Linked DNA regions of Homo sapiens: region 1 is linked to region 2. The links are contacts of gene promoters, found by promoter capture Hi-C in human tissues and cell types (Jung and others, 2019). All regions are on one chromosome and are shown on one strand. Each heading gives the region's core, a stretch centred on a gene start or on the middle of the fragment in contact. The rest is flanking DNA. Distances are from core to core; before and after follow the strand shown.

What was found. The method cuts DNA at HindIII sites, captures the fragments that hold promoters and counts their contacts. A contact is called where the count stands out against the background at its distance.
Region 1: a contact is called between a fragment that was not itself captured here and the fragment with the promoter of VLDLR in region 2, in 2 of the 25 tissues and cell types used here (bladder and heart right ventricle).

What each region holds. Positions count from the first base shown.
Region 1 is chr9:2,762,166-2,766,985 of GRCh38, forward strand. No RefSeq gene overlaps it. Among named protein-coding and RNA genes, the nearest start is that of KCNV2, 47 kb to the left of the region's middle. The HindIII fragment of the contact is 8,925 bases long and covers 1-4,820 here.
Region 2 is chr9:2,619,541-2,624,243 of GRCh38, forward strand. It overlaps VLDLR (very low density lipoprotein receptor), which reads left to right and starts at 2,247. Exons shown (of 19, transcript NM_003383.5): 1 at 2,247-2,731. The coding sequence starts at 2,650. VLDLR-AS1 (VLDLR antisense RNA 1) reads right to left here and starts at 2,833. Exons shown (of 4, transcript NR_015375.2): 1 at 2,560-2,833. RefSeq lists an enhancer at 1,789-2,083 and silencers at 1,962-2,041, 2,652-2,921, 3,192-3,281, 3,292-3,381. The HindIII fragment of the contact is 11,914 bases long and covers 1-4,703 here.

The DNA.
Region 1 (4,820 bases), core at 2,094-4,593, 140 kb after region 2:
CAGAGCATGGCCAAGACCAGGTTTTAGTGCCAAAACAGGTTATGGAAGGGAGAAATGAAGAGACTTGGCTAGAAGGCGTGGTCTTGTCTAGAGGAATCCTCACAGACAGCAGCTTTCAGGGAGAATAGAAGTGTGTGTGCGTGTGTGTGTGTGTGTGTGTTTTCCGGACTTTTAAAAGTGTCCAACTCTCAGTTAATCTTTCTAAATCCAGACAAGGGAAGGCTTCATTAATGAAGGTCTCTCCAGATGCAAATTTTCCTCACTAAAGACAGCTTTGCAGGGACACTTCTGTTTGCTGACCCTCTGACAGCCATCTCAAAATAGGACAAATAAATATATTTAGGAGTGAAATATTTTTATTTCCTTCAAAATCTATGTTCTGCTTTAGGCAAATAGAGGCAGGGCTGAGAACTTCCCTGCATCTACTTCTTAATTGTCTTCAGCTCAACAATTCTTTCTATTTTGGGGAGGCACATGCTGGTCTCCCACATTATCATCCTCTGTATGGCAAAAAACCTAGTCTTAAATAATCATGTACTTCTCCACTGGCACAAGATATTTTCTGAGTCCTCTAGACCTGGCTTTAACCACTCCTACCCTCATTTTTATAAGGAAAAGTAAAGAGAAAATAAAAAGGCTAGTAAAATGGAAATCTGCATACCCTCCACCTAGATTCTCCACCTGTCAACATTTTATATTTTACTTTAGCATTCTCTTTCTCTCTGCACACAAATACTTTCCCTCTCTCTCTCTTTAAAAAATAAATGGGTAGTTTTAGTGTAATCACTCAACAACGTCTCCCTGCCCATTGCACAGACAAAATCAATTCACTGAGACTGCAGCACAGCAGTAAGGAAAGAGTTTAACTGACACAAGGCTAGCCATGTGGGAGATGAAGTAATTACTAAAATCAGTCTCCCCATAAGTTTGGAGGTTAGGGTTTTACAAGGACAGTTTGGTGGGCAGGGGGCTAGGGAATGGGGGATGTTCATTGATTGGGGATGAAATCACAGGGGTCTGGAAAACAGTTCTCATGCTCTCAGCCCACCTGTGGGGGCCACAGGACTGGTTGAGTCATGAATTGAGGGTCTGTGTGGAGTCAGAAATGCAAAAGTCTAAAAAACATCTCAAAAAGCTAATGTTAGGTTTCACAATAGTGATGTTATCTAGGGGAATCATTGGGGAAATTGCAAGTCTTGTTACCTCCAGAACAAGGGCTGGTAATCATTTAACTACGCCTACATCTCAGCAGAATTCAGGCCCCTCTCATAATCACAACCTTGCGAACTTAGTTTTATAGAGGTGGTTTAGTTTGGGGAAGGGCTATTATCATCCTTGCTTTAAAGTTAAACCATAAACCTAATTCCTGCCAAACCTAGCTTGGCTTATGCCCAGGAATGACCAAGGACAACTTGGAGGTTAGAATCAAGATGGAGTAACTATGTCAGATTTCTCTTACTGTCAAAATTTTGCAAAGGCGTTTTCACTTCTGGCACCCAAATCTGCAAATGAGGGGAGTTGGGCTGACTAGCATATCTCTAAGGACCCTGGGATTCAAAATTATATGTGGATGGGTGCTTTCTGTGTATATGCCCTTATTGTTCCTTAAAAAAAATAATGGTGTTGCAAACTCACATCTCACCATACATTCCCGGGAAAATCAGCCAAATCCAGAATAAATGTGCATGATCCTTGCCAGCTGAAAAAGGATTAAAAAGAGAGAAAACACCTGGCACAGGCCCTTGAAATACTTTTGCTCAAGTCTATTAAACAAGGCACAAATAACACTTGAGATTGCGATAATCTAATAATCTTTTTGTGAACACTATAGCTAAAGATAGATATGAGCAGGGGCTTCATCAAGAAAGGAGGGCAAGGCTGGGCGTGGTGACTCATGCCTGTAATTCTAGCATTTTGGGAGGCTGAGATGGGTGGATCACCTGAGGTCAGGGGTTTGAGGCCAGCCTCGCCAACATGGTGAAACCCTGACTCTATAAAAATGCAAAAATTAGCCAGGCATGGTGGCAGGTGCCTGTTATCCCACCTACTTGGAAGCCTGAGGGAGGTGAATCACTTGAACCCAGGAGGTGGAGGTTGCAGTGGGCACTATTGCACTCTAGCCTGAGTGACAGAGTGAGACTCCATCTCAAAAAAAAAAAAAAAAAAAAAAAAGAGAAACAAAAGAAAGGAGGACAATGCACTCATATTCTCAGACCGCTTCATTATAGAGTTCTTATTACCAGCATAACATTGCCTGCCACTGACTCAGAGTCACACGTCTCTGCTCCACAAAGAAAGAAGCTGTCCTTGCCGTGGGTGACAGCCATTGAGAACTACAGACTTCTCTCCTGCTTGAGAGAAATGCGGCACAGGAAACAGCAAGAATAATTCTGATCAGTGGTTGTCAGGCAGTTTTGTAACTTACAAAGTATTTTCCCTTGTAGAGTTTGGTTCATCTAAGATCATGGAAACAGGAAGTGGCAAACTCCACAGTAGCCACAGACAGGAGCTATGACCAGGGCCTCATATGATGCTCACAGCAGTAAGGCTTGGCTCTATATACCAACACAGGTATATAATAAAAGGAAATTAAAATATTTTATCCTAGGCCAGGCGTGGTGGCTCATGCCTGTAATCCTAGCACTTTGGGAGGGCAAGCTGGGCAGATCACTTGAGGTCAGGGGTTCAACACAAGCCTGGCCAATATGGTAAAACCCCATCTCTACCAACAATACAAAAATTAGCTGGGCATGACGGTGCATGCCTGTAATCCCAGCTACTAGGGAGGCTGAAGCACGAGAATCACTTGAACCCGGGAGGCGTAGGTTGCAGTGAGCCGAGACTGCGCCACTGCACTCCAGCCTGGGCGACAGAGCAAGACGCTGTCTCAAAATAAATAAATAAATAAAATAAATAAAAAAAAATATTTTATCCCAAAACCTATTTCTGTGACGTATTTTAAAAGGGCTATCACTTGGCCTATCACTTCTGACAGAAGTGGATTTGCAAAGCTGCCTTAAGTGGGGAAAATTTGCATCTATAGAGAACCTTCATTACTGTAACCACGCCCCCTCCCCTTTCTATACCTTCCCCGCTCCAGGAAAGATTGAGAGTCTGACACCTTTTAAAGTCTTAAAATAAACATTTACCATCTATTTTCTTTGGGGAAGGTTTCATCTATGTAACAAGGCCATCTTTGCTAGCCAAGCTTCTTCCTTTCTGTCTCTCTTCACATGTCTTGCCACTAAACCTGACTGACCTGTTTCTGGCCATGCTCTGAGTCTGCATTCTTTACTGTGGCCTCAGTATGGCATATAAGTTTCTGTTACTCACTGGGAAGTTGGCCTTTTCATTTTGAAGCCTCCTGTGTATATACATGTCTTACTCTATTCTTGCATTGCTATAAATACTGGAGACATGGTAATTTATAAAAAAAAGAGGTTTAATTGGCTCATGGTTGTGCAGACTGTACAGGAAGCAGGATGTTGGTATCTGCTCAACTTCTGCTCAGGAAACTTAGAATCACCGTGGAAGGCAAAGGGAGCAGCAGGCACTTCACATGGCCAGAGCAGCAGCAAGAAAGCAAGTGAGGAGGTGCCACACACTTTTAAACGATCAGATCTCATGAGAACACACTCTCTATTGCGAGGACAGTACCAAGAGGGATAGTACTAAACCACTCATGAGAAAACTGCCCCCATGATCCAATCACTTCCCACCAGGCCTCACCTCCAACACTGGGGATTACATTTCAATGAGATTTGGGTAACGACACACATCCAAACTATATCAACATGTTAAATAAATTTGTATACCTTTTCTCCTATTAATCAATCCGCTTTATGTCAGTGATTTTCAGCGAGCCTTTAGGAGGCCAAGAGCCTATGGCCCCCACAATACCACTACAGTACATACAGGCACTATATACCAGGAATTATAAATTTACACGTGTCTTCCTACATGATTGCATTTGATGCTTACATTCCTATTACTTGCAACAAAGTATCTCACCTAATAAAATAATGGAAAAGGTCTATTCCCTTGCCCTAACTACTTTTCTCACACACACGCAAAATAACAGTCCTGGCGGGGCACTGTGGCTCGGGCCTATAATCTCAGCATTTTAGGAGACCGAGGCAGGCGTATCACTTAAGGTCAGGAGTTCGAGACCAGCCTGGCCAATATGGTGAAAACCTGTCTCTACTAAAAATACAAAAATTAGCCAGGCGTGGTGGCGCATGCCCATAATCCCAGCTACTTGGGCGGCTGAGGCAGGAGAACTGCTTGAACCTGAGAGACGGAGGCTGCAGAGAGCCAAGATCATGCCACTGTACTCTAGCCTGGGCAACAGAGTGAGACTCTGTCTCAAAAAACAAAACAAAAACAACAACAACAAAACAGTTCTGCTGGACAAATGGAGTTTGTATTATTTATCATATTATGTATTGGAGAATCTCCACACGGTATGAACCCTCTTAGGTAGATAAGCAGGGCAAGAATTATTATCTCTATTTTGTAACGAGAAAATATTACTCTGAAAAAAATAAAAAGAATTTAACCTGTAATCTTTGCATTACACTCTATACATGCTGCTATGTCTCTATACATGCTGCTAGTATTAGGGAAGTTTAACCTCAAAAAGTTTCCCAGAGTTAGGTAAAACGGTCATAAATTTGATGTGGAAAAATAATTGCTTCAGTATAGTCAAGGAAGACAACTAGGAAATATAAAATAATGGGGAAAAGGTGTGGCTCTGAAATCAAATTAAAAATATTTGTATGATAATCAATAAACATACTAGTGGAACTGAACAGATAATC
Region 2 (4,703 bases), core at 997-3,496:
TTATTAGCTACTTTCTATCATAATCCAATGAATTTCTCCATACAACCTTTTTCTTCTAATAAACAACACCTTGCAGAGAGCTGGTCCTTGAGGCCACGGAGCACTTTGATATAATGTGGCTTGGCTTTCTTTTCAGTTTACAGGCCAAAAGGCAGACACAGAGAGGCACAGTGATTTTTCCCAAGTTACACAGTCAATCAGAGATGGAGCCAAAAGTTATGCTTTCTTTTGAGTCAACAAAAAAGCTACAGGATTGAATACAGAGCTGCAGCTAAGTTCACTGAAAGTTTATTTATATCCCTTGGAGAATTAGAAAGTACTCACACACGTTTTTCAAAGTTAAGTCTTATTATACCATATCAATGTATAGCTTGTAGTATACCTGTATCTCTGAGTAAAGTATTAAAAACAAGTCATATGACTGTTTATTAATGCTGCCTCTTTTTGTATTGATTCCACCCATCCCTTCTACTCCTTTCCTCTTCTGTAAAGCAGTAGCTCATCAGATGGCATTTCAGAACCCTGAGAATATGAAAGACATCATGCACTAAGGTTTTCCTATCACATCTCAATGCCATTAGGTGAATAACACCGGCATGCATCTTCACTACTAAATGTCATACAAACAAATTTCAGTTGTTTCACATGCAACCTGTGTGGCTGCTGCAGTTTGTATCAACTATGTAACCACAGGGTGGGCAAAATAGCATTCAAAATGAGCTATAGTGCAAGATACCATCCATACGTAGAGTTAAGCCCTTTCATGCTTAGCAGTCACAATCAGGATATCTTTGGCCCACAGAAACCTATCCTGACTGGAATTTTCCTCTCCTGTGTGTCTCCTGGATATAGTAAGTTCCTAATAAACATCTCCTCTGATTGCTAGCCTTGACAAATTTCCAGGAGAACCAGGGCAAGGAGAAGACAGTGAGGCAGTGCCCGCTGCTCTTCAGATCACCAACAGAATAGAGTCAGAATATGATATTATTGAAACCTTCCAAGTTTGAATTAAGATAAAAACAACTTTTTCAAAATACCAAAAACCTTTTATTTAAGAAAGTGAAATCGCTCGATGTGCCCTCCCACTCTGGTTAGATGCTCAACAGACCACAGCAGACAATGCACCTCAACCAGGGCTAAGTGTGCAAGAAAACTGAAGTACACAAAAAGCAAATTATAGACTCAGGTACTGTCAGGCACAAAAGAAGAACCAACCCTTTCTAGGAGTCTTGTCTTTGCTTCCTTTATTCTTTCCTCGATTCTTGTAATTGAATGTTACAAAGTATATCAAGAGGAATAAACGTATGGGGCCCCTCTCTTCCAAACAAGAAAAGGTTAAGCTTTTAATTACAGGCCCTCAAACTATCATTTTGTGCAATTAGCAATTAACTATAATCGTTGATGAGCAAATGCAAAGCTGCGCTAGCAATTTCCCTTCTCCTCATCCCAGGCTGGGTTATTTCAGTCTTGTTCTATTACAGAGGACCAGCCACAACCGCGCGCACTCTCTTTCAAACATACACACTCTCTCACTTAAAGACACATTTAGTTTTCGGCAAAACGGCATCTCAGCGTGCGATTGAGACCGGCATCCCAAACCCCACTTTTGAGCAGCCCAAACGTTTGGAGCCCCTCCGCTTCATCACTTTCTGAGTGGATAGAGGAGGCCCGAAGAAGATGCTACCTACCAGCCTCTCTCAGGGGCGCAGGAGAGGGTGGTAGAGAGATGCTTGTTGCCCCTGGAAACTGCAAGTACCCCCCAGGTGCACGCCCCGTCAGTGGGGAGGCGGTGGCAACAGCAACGATAGTTGCATCAGCGCTAACTGCTGCTGCTGCTGCGTGTTCTGCCGGAGGCTGCCGGGAGGGTACAGTAATGACTGTAGGGAGCGCACAGCCGCTGCGGCGGCAGGTTCCCTGGATCAGGAAATTAGGACAGGCACCCGGGATTGGAGGCGAGGGCGGCGCGCGAGCCAACCAGCGGTCGCCCCGGGCCCCCGTGAGCCCCAGGCGAACGCGCGGAGCAGCCGGGCCCCTAGAGCGGTCCGGGTGGCGGCGGCGGCAGCCACGACCACGACCGCGGTCACTCACGCACGCTCACACTCGCACGCTCCCCGCGCGGGCACCCGGCTGCCCGGCGCGTGCAAGAGGAGCGCGTCGAGGGAAAGGAGGGCCGAAGCCGCCGCGCTCCCGCCCGCCCGCCGCGCCTCCCGTTGACCACGCCCCCTCCGGCCCCCTCCCCGCTGCTCACCCCGCTCTCCGGCCGCCGCCGGTGCGGGTGCTCCGCTACCGGCTCCTCTCCGTTCTGTGCTCTCTTCTGCTCTCGGCTCCCCACCCCCTCTCCCTTCCCTCCTCTCCCCTTGCCTCCCCTCCTCTGCAGCGCCTGCATTATTTTCTGCCCGCAGGCTCGGCTTGCACTGCTGCTGCAGCCCGGGGAGGTGGCTGGGTGGGTGGGGAGGAGACTGTGCAAGTTGTAGGGGAGGGGGTGCCCTCTTCTTCCCCGCTCCCTTCCCCCGCCAACTCCTTCCCCTCCTTCTCCCCCTTTCCCCTCCCCGCCCCCACCTTCTTCCTCCTTTCGGAAGGACTGGTAACTTGTCGTGCGGAGCGAACGGCGGCGGCGGCGGCGGCGGCGGCACCATCCAGGCGGGCACCATGGGCACGTCCGCGCTCTGGGCGCTCTGGCTGCTGCTCGCGCTGTGCTGGGCGCCCCGGGAGAGCGGCGCCACCGGAACCGGTGAGTGAGGACGCGCCCCTCCGCCGGCGGGCGGGACCCAGCCGGGGCACCGGGAGACCCCGAGGCGTAGGTCTCCGTTTGCCCACCCGCCTCCTAGGAGGCGCCTCTCGGTTCTCCTCGCCTTCCCTCCCTCCCCTCCGTGGTGGCGCCTCTGAGCTGTCAGCGCCGAGGCTAAAGGGAGCCGGGCTTGGGGAACAGCGGGGTTCGGGGTGCCCCGACGCCTCGCCTGAACTAGTCTTCTGCCCCTCACTCCGCCTCCCCCAGAGCCGCTGCTTCGCCTCGTTTCTCGCCCTCTTGACGGGCGCCGAGGTGCGTGGGCTTCTGAGCATTGAACAATGGTTCTGCCTCCTCTGCCAGGCGCAGTGTTGGGAAGGAGGCAGAGGGCCAAGACGTGTGCGGCAGCCTCGGGCGCACCCTCGAACCCCGGGGAGTGCGGGAGCGGACGGGGGGAGAAGGTGAGCGCCTCCGGGGACGCGGAGCGCCAGGGGCCGGCCGGGCTTCAGAGTCTTCCGGCGGCCGCGAGCTGGCGCACGTTCGGTGGGCGGCGGCCGGGAGGCTCCGCGGAGCCGAGGGCACCCGGACTGCGACTCCCCCGGCGCGGGGCCGCCTCTCCGGCGTGCGGGGTAGGGGAGCGGCGGGGCTTTACGCAGGACTCTGCTCTGGGCGCTTCTCCTCTCCCTTTTCCCCGCCTCGGGCGGCGTTTGGAAACCGCTCGGGTCTCCCGTGTAGCTGAACGCGGAGGGGGAGTGGAGGGGAGACTTAATCAGGTTAGTTTGCTGACCCTCCTTCCCGGTGACGTTTCCTCGAGAGGAATTGAGTCCTAGGCTAGTGACTGTAATTAGCCTTCATTCTACACAATAGCTCAAAGGAGCAGCGCGAGAGCGAGCGTGTGGCCCTGTCTTGTTGGGAAGGGCGGCGGTGACTACTGTCGGGTCCCCAGACTCTGCCGCGGGGGCCTGGGGGCCCCGCCTGGTCGTCAGCCACGTTCCCACTTGGGGCCTCGTAACTTTCCTGGACAGGCGACAGGAAGCCTTTCTGAGAGGACTCAGTCGGAATCCTAGCGCGTCCCCGAAGTGATCTTCAGATGTGACGCCGAGGGGCTTGCTTGCCAGCTGCAGGGAATTGGGACTGAAAGCCGCCCAGGCCCTTAACACCCGTTCCAGAGTCCCTGGCTCCCGTCGCCGGGTGGCTTCAGGGGCCCTGCCGGCCTGCAGTCACGTGCTCCTGAAGTGAGAGCGAACTTTAAAGCATGTGGTCAAGGAGCCTGTCGGGCAGCGCCTGGGGTTTTTACGTCTCCGAATGCCCCTGCCCTTTGGTTGCCACTGTCCGGAGCGTGTGAACTGGGACTGGCCTTTCCGCCCTCTGCGATTGGTTAGCGGTGCGATCACGTTTAGGTTGGTCACATGGTTCCGCGGACTCTTAAGTGGGCAGCATGGGCAGTGTTATTTTCAATGGAAAGTAGGAGACTCCACAGGCTCTTACGGGCTGTTCTCTCAAATGCCTTCCCCTGCCTGGACTCTTTGAAGAGGACGAATGTGTAGTGAACATGGAATCTGATGTGTAACAAGCCTGAGAGCCTAGAAAAGCTCTGCTTACAAGAGTTTCCAAACGCTAGCATTAATCATTAATAGATGAGTAATACTAACTTATTAAACGATTTCTCAGTATAGTGCCATGACTTGCATTATGCCTTTTGTAACATTTCAAAACGCTAAGGTATACCAGAAGGAGGGACAATTATCCAGGAAGGTGAGAGAAAAGTTTCGTTTTTGCTGCATGTCCCTTCCACTAGAGGTTAACTTTACCTTATAGAATGCTAGGAATGCACCTAAACTACTGACATGAGTTAGTCAAAGCCAGATGTTCACCTTGTATTGGGCAGGTGAGGATCCTTTTCACTTTGTCACATGTGAAATATTTGACATGCCATGAACAATGGAAAAACAAATTCTTCAAAGGAGAGGAAGCAGAT